Regions from separate parts of the Homo sapiens genome. Here all the other regions are linked to region 1. Evidence: promoter capture Hi-C in 16 types of primary human blood cells and fetal thymus (Javierre and others, 2016). All regions are on one chromosome and are shown on one strand. Each heading gives the region's core, a stretch centred on a gene start or on the middle of the fragment in contact. The rest is flanking DNA. Distances are from core to core; before and after follow the strand shown. Region 1 holds the start of LRRC8B (leucine rich repeat containing 8 VRAC subunit B). Region 2 holds the start of LOC101927975 (a long non-coding RNA gene). Region 3 overlaps LOC105378847 (a long non-coding RNA gene). Region 4 overlaps LRRC8D (leucine rich repeat containing 8 VRAC subunit D).

What was found. Contacts are between HindIII fragments. The CHiCAGO score rates a contact against its expected background, and 5 or more counts as called.
Region 2: a fragment that was not itself captured here is called in contact with the fragment with the promoter of LRRC8B in region 1 in 3 of 17 cell types (non-activated CD4 T cells, activated CD4 T cells and total CD4 T cells); the score reaches 7.1 in non-activated CD4 T cells.
Region 3: a fragment that was not itself captured here is called in contact with the fragment with the promoter of LRRC8B in region 1 in 1 of 17 cell types (total CD4 T cells); the score reaches 5.9 in total CD4 T cells.
Region 4: a contact is called between a fragment that was not itself captured here and the fragment with the promoter of LRRC8B in region 1, in 1 of 17 cell types (non-activated CD4 T cells). The highest score is 5.0, in non-activated CD4 T cells.

Annotation. Positions count from the first base shown.
Region 1 is chr1:89,523,524-89,526,312 of GRCh38, forward strand. It overlaps LRRC8B (leucine rich repeat containing 8 VRAC subunit B), which reads left to right and starts at 1,306. Exons shown (of 6, transcript NM_001369817.2): 1 at 1,306-1,499. RefSeq lists a silencer at 1,170-1,629 and an enhancer at 2,331-2,789. The HindIII fragment of the contact is 21,216 bases long and covers 1-2,789 here.
Region 2 is chr1:89,786,077-89,788,861 of GRCh38, forward strand. It overlaps LOC107985744 (a long non-coding RNA gene), which reads left to right. Exons shown (of 3, transcript XR_001738140.2): 2 at 624-765; 3 at 1,495-2,222. LOC101927975 (a long non-coding RNA gene) reads left to right here and starts at 2,294. Exons shown (of 2, transcript XR_001738141.2): 1 at 2,294-2,785. The HindIII fragment of the contact is 5,480 bases long and covers 1-2,785 here.
Region 3 is chr1:89,965,676-89,968,463 of GRCh38, forward strand. It overlaps LOC105378847 (a long non-coding RNA gene), which reads left to right. Exons shown (of 3, transcript XR_001738142.2): 1 at 1-1,622. Among named protein-coding and RNA genes, the nearest start is that of ZNF326, 28 kb to the right of the region's middle. The HindIII fragment of the contact is 2,957 bases long and covers 11-2,788 here.
Region 4 is chr1:89,873,118-89,876,103 of GRCh38, forward strand. All of the region lies in intron 2 of LRRC8D (leucine rich repeat containing 8 VRAC subunit D), which reads left to right. Among named protein-coding and RNA genes, the nearest start is that of LRRC8D-DT, 53 kb to the left of the region's middle. The HindIII fragment of the contact is 3,292 bases long and covers 1-2,986 here.

The sequences.
Region 1 (2,789 bases), core at 56-2,555:
AAAAGAACAGATCAGTGACACAAAGACAGCCTTCTTTTTCCCTTTCAGGGTGACTCAAATTGTAGTCCTCATCTGAACAGTCTGAGACACAACTCTTGTCTCATATTAACTCGATAGGGCATTTGCTATACTCCCATTTACACAAACTGCTCAGATGCCCCAAATGCTGAGTCTGTTCGTCTTCATTTTATTCCTTTGGGAGATGCCGGTACAAACTTGTTTTTTCTTTCTTTTTTTAAATGGAGATGTGACCACCATAGCAACTAAAAGACATAAATCTTGCCTAATTGAATCAGTGTGCTCAAGATAATAGCCAGGGCAGAGACTGAGTTAAAACTGGGGTAAGGGTGAGAGTGGGGAAATGGATGAGGATGATAAAAATATTTATGTCCCTAGAATTTGTGGGTTTGGATTAATTCTGTTTCGTAAGGAATATTGTTGGCCTTCAAATGCAGTGCCACTTGGGAGAGAAGCAAGCGGGCAGTAGTTGAGGTGTCTCTGCAGTTGAATCGCAGTGAAAGGCAGGTTATGAGTATAGGGACCGCCCCTCGGCCATGTGGTCCCCTCCCTATCCTGAGGATAACGACATTTGAGAGAAGCCAATGGTATTGGAAGGCCAGAATCGAACTTAAGCCGCTTAGTTGGTACAACTGTAAACCCTCCCTCACAGAGGCTGGGCCCTGCAATCTTTCTAAGCAGGGTAAAGAAAAGTAAGGGGACTTCCTTTTCGAAGAGGAGGTTCCCGCGTGCTGCACCCGACCTTTCCCTCAGGGCCCAACACGCGTTATATAAATGCCAAGTTACTCAGGGACGCACACGTGAGAAGGCTGGGGCCCGACACACGCGGTGTAGTGCCGAAGTCACCGGTGTGGCGCGCCTGGGGGACACGCCGAAGCCCATTTCCCTCCCGCTTCTGGAAAGCAGTCCCCGCTCTTTCCAGCTGCTCCGCGGGGCGTATGGCTGTGCGCTACCTCCTGCGGACCCCAGGCTGGGCGAGGGGGCAGCGATGGCCACATGGCGCGCTCGGGGAGATGGCAGCTGCGCTTTGTTTCCAGCAGTGATAGGTGAGTCACTGGCTCCCGCAGCCCCAGAGCTGGGCAAACACTCAGGCCCAGGCAGCTGAAAAATTCACAGCAGGAGCAGCTACCGAAGCGACTGCAGCCTCTTCCTCCTCTTCCTCCTCCTCCTCCTCCTCCGCCACTGCTACCGCCACCACCGTGGTAGCCGCCTCCGCGCCCTGCCTCCGCCCCGTCCCCTCCTCCTCCACCCGCGAACTTAGTCAGCGGTTCGCGCCGCCGAGCGCCCATTGGCCAGCGGAACGCGTCGCGTCACAATGGAGCCGGTCGGAGGCGGCGAGCCGGACAGCGCCGGGGCTTCCCGCTGAGCCCGCAGCCTCCGGCAGCCGGGAAAGTGCGGGCGCGGGGCCGCAGCCTGCCCGCCCGGAGCGGCCCAGGAGCACGCCGCGGGGAGCGCGGGCGTCCGGGGCTGGAGTCGCGCAGGTAGGTCGGAGCGTGACACCCCGGTTCCAGGAGGGCGAGCCGCGCCGACCGAGGTGGTGGAGGAGGAGGACCGGATACGGGGACGCAGCAGGTGGGGCTGGCCGAACAGGTGCGGTTACCTGTTCACGCCTCACCTGCGAGCCAGGCTGCGGGCCGGTAGCGCGGCTGCAGAGACGAGTGGCCGCTTCGTTGTGCTCCCTGCCTTCGGGAGAGACGGAGTCCCACGCTGAGAGGACCTCTCCTGTGTGCTGGGGTCATTTGGAGCAAGAGGTGTGGGCGGTCGCGCCGAGACGGTCACCTCTCTTTCCCCCGGGAGTCTCGGCGTTGCACCTGAGCGTGAGTCCTCGGGGCGGGGCGGGAAAGGGGTTCCGCTTTCCCAGGCTGGCGTCTCGCTCCAGATGAGCGCAACTCCCCTGAGGGTGCCCCCATTTGGTCGCTCTGTTTTGCCCCCTGCGCTGGCGCTGTTGGGAACTATTTTATGCTCTTGGGAACTATTTTATGCTGTTGGATACGCGTTGGTTGCCTATAATTTGGTGGTGGTGTTGGGCGTTGATTTGTTTGAGAAAGAAAGGGCAAGCGTTACCAATTTAAGAAGAAGACTCAAGAGTTTCCCCTGAGCTTAGTTGAGCAGGTGCTGAGAGGTCAGAAGGGAGGAGGCTCAGTATTGGCTCATTAATCTGTGTGCTCAACTGACTTCCTAAAGTCCATAGATTGCCTTTAGTTAGATGACATTTGTGGAAAACTTTTTTTTTCTTTGTGGTCAAAAAGACACCCCTCTAAAAGAACAAAACCGACATGTGAACTTCCTTGAATAAATTCACTTCGCCTAAAGACTTCAAACAAACAAACAAAAAAACACTCCACTGGTAAAAGATAACAGTATGAACATTTTAAATTGTAGATATATAGCCAAATTAAAACAGGCAATTTGTTCAGCGTATATTAAGAAGACATTACGTAGCATGATTTTTATTAAAAGACAACCTATTTGCAAATGATATAGTAGTCTTTGCAGAACACCCCAGAAATCTTAAAACAGATTTATCTTTATCAGATGGTTCTGTCCCCTAAACCTAGGTGTAGGAGTGAGGATGGAAAAGAAGTCAAACTGCAGTGTAATTTTTTAAACAATTCCAGTACCCTCTATGTGTACAGGCTACACCTCCTGAGAACCCCAAATGCTCTTTGTTTTGTTTCTTTGTTTTGTTTTGAGACGGAGTCTCACTCTGTCGCCCAGGCTGGAGTGCAGTAGTGCGATCTCGGCTCACTGCAACCTCCACCTCCTGGGTT
Region 2 (2,785 bases), core at 187-2,686, 260 kb after region 1:
TGGTCAATATGGTGAAACCTCGTCTCTACTAAAAATACAAAAATTAGCTGGGCATGGTGGTTCACATCTGTAGTCCCAGCTACTCTGGAGGCTGAGGCAGGAGAATCGCTTGAACCCGGGAGGCAGAGATTGCAGTGAGCTGAGATCGCGCCACTGCACTCCAACCTGGCAACAGAGCGAGACTCTGTCTCAAAAAAAAAAAAAAAAAAAAAAAAAAGTAAATAAATACATGAAAATAAAATCTGTGATGTGGCCCAAGGCTTGTTTCTCACCTTCTCACCAAGTCTCCGGCCTTTCTATGCTGTTTCTTTCTATGCTGTTTCATACATCAGCTCCTTTACCCTTCTTGTTCTCCCTTAGGCATTACAAAATTAAGTTAACTGTACTCTGCCCAGGGTGGCTGGCTCTCGACATTGCCCTGAATGCATGTGCTGGTTCTGCTTCCCTGCCACTGGGTAGGACATACTGTACACCTGGAATAGCTTCTCCTTTCTCCCAGCCTAGCTGAATATTCCTCACCTTTAAACCCTAAAGAGAGACTCTCTCCACCACGAAGGCTTACACGTAACACTTTGTTCAATTGTTTGTAACAGAAGCTCAACTACATTATTTTAACCAAATAGGGGTTTGTTTTCTCACACACCAAGAAGTCCAGAAGCAGACAGCCCAGGACTCTTACAGCTGCTCAGGGAAATCACCAAGGACCAGGCTGCTTCTAACATCCTTATCTGACAACCCCAGCGACTGGCTTCAGTCCTCATGGTGGTAAGATGGCTGCTCTACTCTATGTGTTGTGTCTGGGTCCCAGGCAAAGAGAAGGGGCAGGAGCAAAGGGTCCAAGGTGCATGCCAACTGAGTCTGTGCCTTTGTACCAAGAAAATAATCGCTTTCCTGGAAGCCCCACTCACTGGACTTCCTCTGTCATCTTGCTGGCCAGAACCTGATTGGGTGGCCACCCTTACTGGGCACATGGCTCTCCTAAACAAAACCGGCATGCTATTAGAAAGGAAGAGGAAATGGTAGAAGATGAGATAAACAACCAGCGGTGCCTACCACTCCTTCAGTCTATTCCAGTCCATTGGAACTTTACCCTCCTTTGAGCAACTGTTTACAGTCTTCCCGCCTTATCCTCAGGGGATACTTTCCAAGACCTCCAGTGGATGCTCGAAACCAAGGATAGTATCAAGCCCTATAAATACTGTTTTTTTCCTATATATACATACCTATAATAAAGGTTAATCTATAAATTAGGCACAATAAGAGATTGACAATTATAACTAATAACAAAATAGAACAATTATAACAATATACTGTAAGAAAGGTTATGCAAATGAGGTCTCTCTCTCTCAAAATATCCTATTATACCATACTCACCCTTCTTCTTGTGATGTGTCCATGGCTGGATGTCAGGAGCAGACAATGTCAATAACTCACAGGTAGGTAGCACATACAGTGTGGATACACTGGACAAAGGAGTGATTCATATCCCCACAGGACAGAGTCGGACGATGTGAAATTTCTTCATGCTGCTCAAAATGGTATGTAATTTAAAACTTATGGATTATTTCTGAAATGTTTAATTTAATATTTTCAGACTATGGCTGATCATGGGTAACTGAAACCATGGAAAGAAAACTGCTGATAAAGAAAATACTGTATTGCAATTTGTGGGCAGCAAAAGTCCATGTCTATATCCCCCATAATAGAGTGCTGAGCATACAGTAAATGTTCCACTTACTAATACCACAAATACGTACAGGCAACATGGCATCATGGTTACTACTTAGTAGCCTGTGTTTGAATCCCAACTCAGCCACTTACTATTTATTAGTCCCGTCAACTTGACCAAGTTACTTAACCTCTCTGTTCTTCAATTTCCCCATCTGTACAATGGAAATAATGTGTTAATACATATAGGCAACCCTTGGCATCCTGGGGATTGGTCCCAGGACACCCCTCATACCAAAATCTGTGAATGTGCAAGTCCCTTATATAAAATGGCATAGTATTTGCATATAACCTACTCATATCCTCTCATATTCTTTAAAGCATCTCTAGATTACTTACAATACTTGATCCAATGCTTGCACATCATTTTATTCATGTAGATTCAATGTAGTACTCAGTGCATGGTAAATTCAAGTTGTGCTCTATGGACCTTTGTGCAATTTTTTTCCCCCAAATATTTTTGATCTGAGGTTAGTTGAATTTACAGATGCAGAACCCACAGATATGGAGGGTTGTCTGTACTTTATGCAGTTGTTATAAGGATTAAATTAGATTAACCCTAATATTAATTTAATAAATTAACTTCAATAGAACAGCTAGAATAGTAAGCACTATGTAAGTGTCTGTTAAATGAACACATGATTGTCACCTATGGTTAAAACATTACCAGAAATTGAGACCCAGAATTTGACAAGTTAGAGCATCTTCATGGACAAAAGGGACAGAATAGTGGAAGCCAGGACTGTTGAGGTCAATTAGGATGCATGGTATAACCGCAGGTGAGACATCAATAAGGGAACCTAGCGACAGGTGGGTCAGAGTTGAGGCTTTAAGGTCAGGCTGCCAAATTCAGCCACTAGCTTCCTACTTATTAACTGTGTTCCCTGGGCAAATCACTGAATCTGTCTAAGGGTCAATTTTCTCATATGTAAAAATAGGATAAAAATAAACAGAGCCTCTCCTTAGGTGTGTTTTGAAGATTAAATAGATTATGTAGGGTACTTAACATTATTCATGGTATGTCTGAATAAATGTTCATTTTGTTAACGATCAGGAC
Region 3 (2,788 bases), core at 239-2,738, 440 kb after region 1:
TGTGGAATAAAGCTTCTAGCAGACAATGATAGAGAGTATAATGAATAAGAACTATATCTTCAAGTTTAAGTCATGGAAATTTTGAATTTACTTGTAACTGCAGTGTAGCCCAGCCTAGCCTGGCTGAAATACTGATAAATAACAGAAGTTCATGTTCAACAGTCCTGTTTCTTCAGATGCTGGATTAGCAGCTGTTGGGCTCAGAAAAGGCTACTCCAAAATATGGTGCTTTGACATGCTGAATGGAGGAAGCAGCCTCAAAATTCTCTCTGACCTCCCTGCACCCCGTCTCTTAATCCTCCATCTCTCCCAAAGCACAGGATGAAATTGTTATCTAAAGTTCCCGTATCTGCCTACAGTCCAGATCTGCCAAGGGAAAAAACAAATCCCTCTCATCCCTTCCCTGAGTTTTAATTAACTAAACTCATATCACAGGAAGAAAGACAAATCTGTTGGCCAGGCGCGGTGGCTCACGCCTGTAATTCCAGCACTTTGGGAGGCCGAGGCAGGTGGATCATGAGGTCAGGAGTTCAAGACCAGCCTGGCCAAGATGGTGAAACCCTGTCTCTACTAAAATAAAAATGCAAAAAAGTTAGCCGGGCGTGGTGGTGGGCGCTTGTAATCCTGGCTACTCAGGGCTACTCAGGAGGCTGTGGCAGAGAATTGCTTGAACCCGTGAGGTGGAGGTTGCAGTGAGCCGAGATCACGCCACTGCACTCTCCAGCCTGGGCGACAGAGTGAGACCCAGTCTCAAAAAAAAAAAAAAAAAAAAAAAAAAAAAAAGGACAAGTCTGTCAACAAACCTGGACAGCCTTTTGTCCCAAAACATTGTCTGCTTTGTGAGCCCAACAGGCTTTGTCTCAGGCCATTATATGTTCTTGGAGCCCATTAAATTCCCCTAAAAATCATTTACTAACCCCCTTACATCACTCATACTTCCCCATCTCCCTTTCTTCTAAGAAGAAAGGCATAAAAACATCTAGACCCCAATTCACGGAGAAAGAGGGGATAATATCTGGGATTTTCCTCCATGCACTTTAATAAATTTATATGCTTTCCTCCTATTAATCTGCCTTTTGTCAGCTGATTTTCAGCAAACCTTTAGGGGGCAAAAGGGAAGTTTTCCTTTGGCTGCTACACAGCTCTGAACTGATGAGGAAGAGCTACTGCGTGTAAGAGTCTGGCTACGAGCCAGGTGCCTTCCATCCTACATCTCAGTTCAATTCCACAATAAAATGGAAAGGCAGGTATTACTGAACTCATTTTACCTATAAAGAACCTGAGAAGCGAAGTGACTTGCCCCAGCTCATTGGCAAGCAGCAGAGCTAAGACAGGAAGCCAGGTTTTCCGAGTATAAAACCCAAGCAGAGTCACTATGCTGTACTGAGACCTCCTATTACTGATTATGAACCAAGGTAATTTTATCCTACTTGATAACTCAGATGTCACCTCCTCCTGAATTAGTCACTTTTATATGCTCCTCTTGTCTCTCTTCTTTTCTATTTTCTCCAAGAACTGAGCTGTGGGACGCTTACCCTCATGATATTCCCTTACTTTGAGATAACTGCGATTCTCTCACTTAATGGCAAGGAAAAAAATACTTGGAATGTGGCCCCTGAAAGGTAATGTTAAACATTTTATATACATTGCAATCTTGTTTAGTCTTTATACAAACTCATAACAGAAGTATTATAGATCTATTTTAAAAGTGGGGAAACTGAAAGAAGAAAAAACTGAGAAACTGAAGCCGTGGCAGGTTATATAAATTGTCTAAGGCAGAGGCCGGGCGTGGTGGCTCACACCTGTAATCCCAACAGTTTAGGAGGTCGAGGCGGGCAGATCGCCTGAGGTCGGGAGTTTGAGACCAGCCTAACCAACATGGAGAAACCCCATCTCTACTAAAAATATAAAATCAGCTGGGTGTGGTGGTGCATGCCTGTAAAGTCCCAGCTACTTGGGAGGCTGAGGCAGGAGAATCGCTTGAACTCGGAAGGCGGAGGTTGTGGTGAGCCGAGATGGTGCCATTGCACTCCAGCCTGGGCAACAAGAGCAAAACTCTGTCTAAAAAAAAAATTGTCTAAGGTTGGGTGAAGTTCAAGCCTCTATCCACCTGAATCCAAACTCCTTCCCCTTTACAGTTTCTCTTCCCACAGTAATATTTGCTGTGTCTCAATTCTTTTTTTTTTGGTTGGGGGTGGGAGACAGGGTCTCACTCTGTTGCCCAGGCTGGAGTGCAGTGATGTGTTCACAGTTCACAGCAGCCTTGAATTTCTGGGCTTAAACTATGCTCCCACCTCAGTTTCCAGAGTAGCTAGGACTACAGGTCCCAGCTAATTATTTTAATTTTTTACTTTTTGTAGAGATGGGGCCTTGCTTTTTTGCCCAGGCTGGTCTCGAACTCCTGGCATCAAATAATTCTCCTGCTTCAGCTTCCCGAAATGCTGGGATTACAGGTGTGAGCCACTGCATCCATGCCTGGCCCTGCTTTCAGTTCCATTAGCACTTGGAATTCCCTCACCTCTATGATGGCACTCAAAGAAATGGATCTAAACTATGGCATTTGGACATTCTTGAGCGGGCTCTACTAGCATTTAATGAACTGAGACCATGGAGGAGAGACATGCTGCCATAGTGAGACAGCCCATACAACAAAGAATTTTCTGTCATCATATGGGATCTTCTAATGTCCCAACAGATAAAGGTTCTTGTACATGGAAAACCTGTTTATATTTCCAAGCCTAAGGTCTAATTCCATTTTATATACAAATATGAACCATTTAGGAATGCA
Region 4 (2,986 bases), core at 124-2,623, 350 kb after region 1:
CTGTAATTGTACAGGGGAGAGATCATAGAGATCCAGGGAACATCAAGATACTAATTCAACCTGTCCTCTTTGAAAAATTTGACCCCCTCCCCTGTAACTCAACAACCCCTCAAAGCTGTCGATGCAAAGTTGCAAAATAACAAAGGCTTCTGTATTAATTTCTGTGTTACAGCCTTCTGGGAAGAGAATGCTGGGAGAAAAAATATTTCTAAATGTATAATTGCATATATACACTTTTTAGGTTCTCCTTGTATTTTTAATGACCTAATACTAGAACATTTTGATAAGTTTAGTTCTTAAACAGAACTACCAAACACAAAAGCCAGCTGGAGGCAGCAAATGACTAGGTGGATGTTGAAGCTCATGACTTCCTTTCAGTGGCCTCTTCTTTGTATACAGCTCCATGTTTATGTCCAGATGGACTGACTATATTGATAGGTTCCAGATAAACAATGGACACATTAGAAGAGGGGTGTTATCATCAAAAACTAACAACTGAAGAGTTAAAATATGAAACATATCTTTGTCATGTAGGATTGAAAACTATCATATTTTATTGAATCAAATTTATGGCATGTTTCTCGTAAACCTAAATTTTATAATCCTGTCTGTTAAGTTGGTTGGCAAAGCCCAAATGTTTTCCCTTACATTCCTGAAACAAATTTATAAAGTCAAAGAATCAGCCATATCATAGCAAATTTAGAGTGCCGTTTGATAATGAACGACCTAGTAGGTCATTAATCTTTTCTATGGGCAGTGTTTTTTTTCCTCATCAGCTGCCTAAAGTATTTGGGAAATTGTATCTTGTGGGAGTTGCCATTCATCAGGAAATGCTTGTTCATAGATCTAAGCCAGACCACATGTAGCAGTAAATGTTATTTATCACTATGGAAACCAAAAATCACAAATGGGATAGTCTAAGTGTTAAGCATTCTGCTTCCTATGGCAGTAAGTCATACCCAAATTTGGTTCACTTCACTCAAATATTTGTGAGGCACTTAACGATTAAAGGGTTTGTAGGTACTTTGTTTAATGAATAAATTTCTCCTACACAAAGCTGAAAACATCATAAAGGGAAAAACTAGGAGGAAGAGTTGCCAGTTTATGTGGCTTATCAAGCTCATAATTGTAGACCCCTAAATTCGGAGGCAGAGGACTAGAGTTTTAGCTGTGGTGCTGCCAGAAGCTAGCTGTGTAGCTTTGAACTAGTTCTCTAACTTCTTTGGAACTCAGTTTTCTCATCTATAATGAGATGGAGTTGGATTCTATGACCTCGAAGTGTGAATCTGTTTTCCTTTATTATTCCTTGAGAAGTAAGAAACTATTTGTGTGTGTGTGTGTGTGTGTGTGTGTGTGTGTGTGTGGTAAGTGGGGCATAATATTTGGATTCATTATGTCAGGAGTAGTGAAGTTTACTATTACCCTTCAGTGACTTTATCACCTAAAAAAAGAACAAAAACCCATGCTTAGTAAGGATAGGGTCCACATGTTGCCATTTATCTATGGATTCTGCCTTCCTCTCCACTCAGTATGTATTGACAAAGGATGTCATTATTATCTAGCAATGATGAAGTATTGCAATAATCTGAATTGTAGATGTTGAATTGACTCGTAGCCAAAAGGTGGCATTTAAGGAGTATAATTGCTGTTCATAGATAAAAGTAAGAATAATGACTTAAGCAGTAATCCAAAAATGTTAAGAAGTTGGTGGAAGAAGAGGCTGGCTGAATTGATGAGTGAGAATGTTTATTCATAAATTCATTTAATTCTTAGTTCTACTGAGACTTTACCATGATTGTCATTGCAGTAGTTCCTATACAGTGGGAATATGTTCCTATAATGGGAATTTGAATCATTCAGTGTTGCTGATCTGGTTGTATCTGGACGAGGCAACTTCTCTTACCTGTTGTCTCATTATTTAGTGGGGGGAATATCTATCCCATCCTTACTTCTCAAGAATAATATGAGGATAAAAAAAACCTGTATAAAGCTACAAACCAATATTATTTTGTACAGGTTAAGTAGCCCGGTAGAATCTTTTGGAATTGATTGAAAATACAAATGCCTTTTTGACAGGCATTGCTGTTGGATTTTTTTTAACATGGGAGAAGTTTACTAGATTTCAAATTTTAAAATATGCATGGGATTGAAAGTTAGAAGCTCTGAAACATTTAACTATCTGGTCTTTACAAAATATCATAATAGGTGTCCATTAAATGTTCTTCATTCACTCATTCATTTATTTTATAGTTTTTGATCATTTGCTGAATGCCAAGCAGTGTTTTAGAAGCTAGATTATACAGTTGTGAATATAACAAAATCCTTATCCTTATGAAGACCATATAGTAGATGAGTCTGATAAGCATGTGTTTCATGGATATCTATTAGATATCCTTTAATAAGTGCTAATAACAAAATTAAGCAAGATAAAGAGATAGGGCAATGAGAGAAGGGGGTGTTACATGGTCAGAGAAAGCCTTTCATATACAACAGTGTAACTTCCACCTCTTTTAAGGTCTTCTTTATTTCTATATGTTGTCATCTGACACTGTACCCAACACATAGAAGGTGCTTATTAAATGTTTAAATGAAATTTTTATTTATTTAACAAACACTTATAGAGGACTTACTCTATGCCAAGCAGTGTTCTAAGTGCCTTGCAAATATTATTTTATTTGATTTTCACAAGAACGCTTTGTATACTGTTTCATTTTATGAGGAAACTGAGGCACCAGGATGTTGAGGAACTTCCGCAAGGTCACAGCTAATAATGAATGAATCAGTTTGTAAAGGAATTTAAAAAATAAAGATTCTTAAAGGTTCTTAGTGCCACCTCTTGCTTTCAGGAACACCAGATAGGGTGGGACTCCATATTTTGGGATCATGTTGGGTAGGGAGCATGTCAGCCCCTGAGGTCCTTTTGAAAAGCTCCTAATACCTCTACCTCCCAGGCCAGGCAGATACCACTCTTCTCCAGGCTTCCATC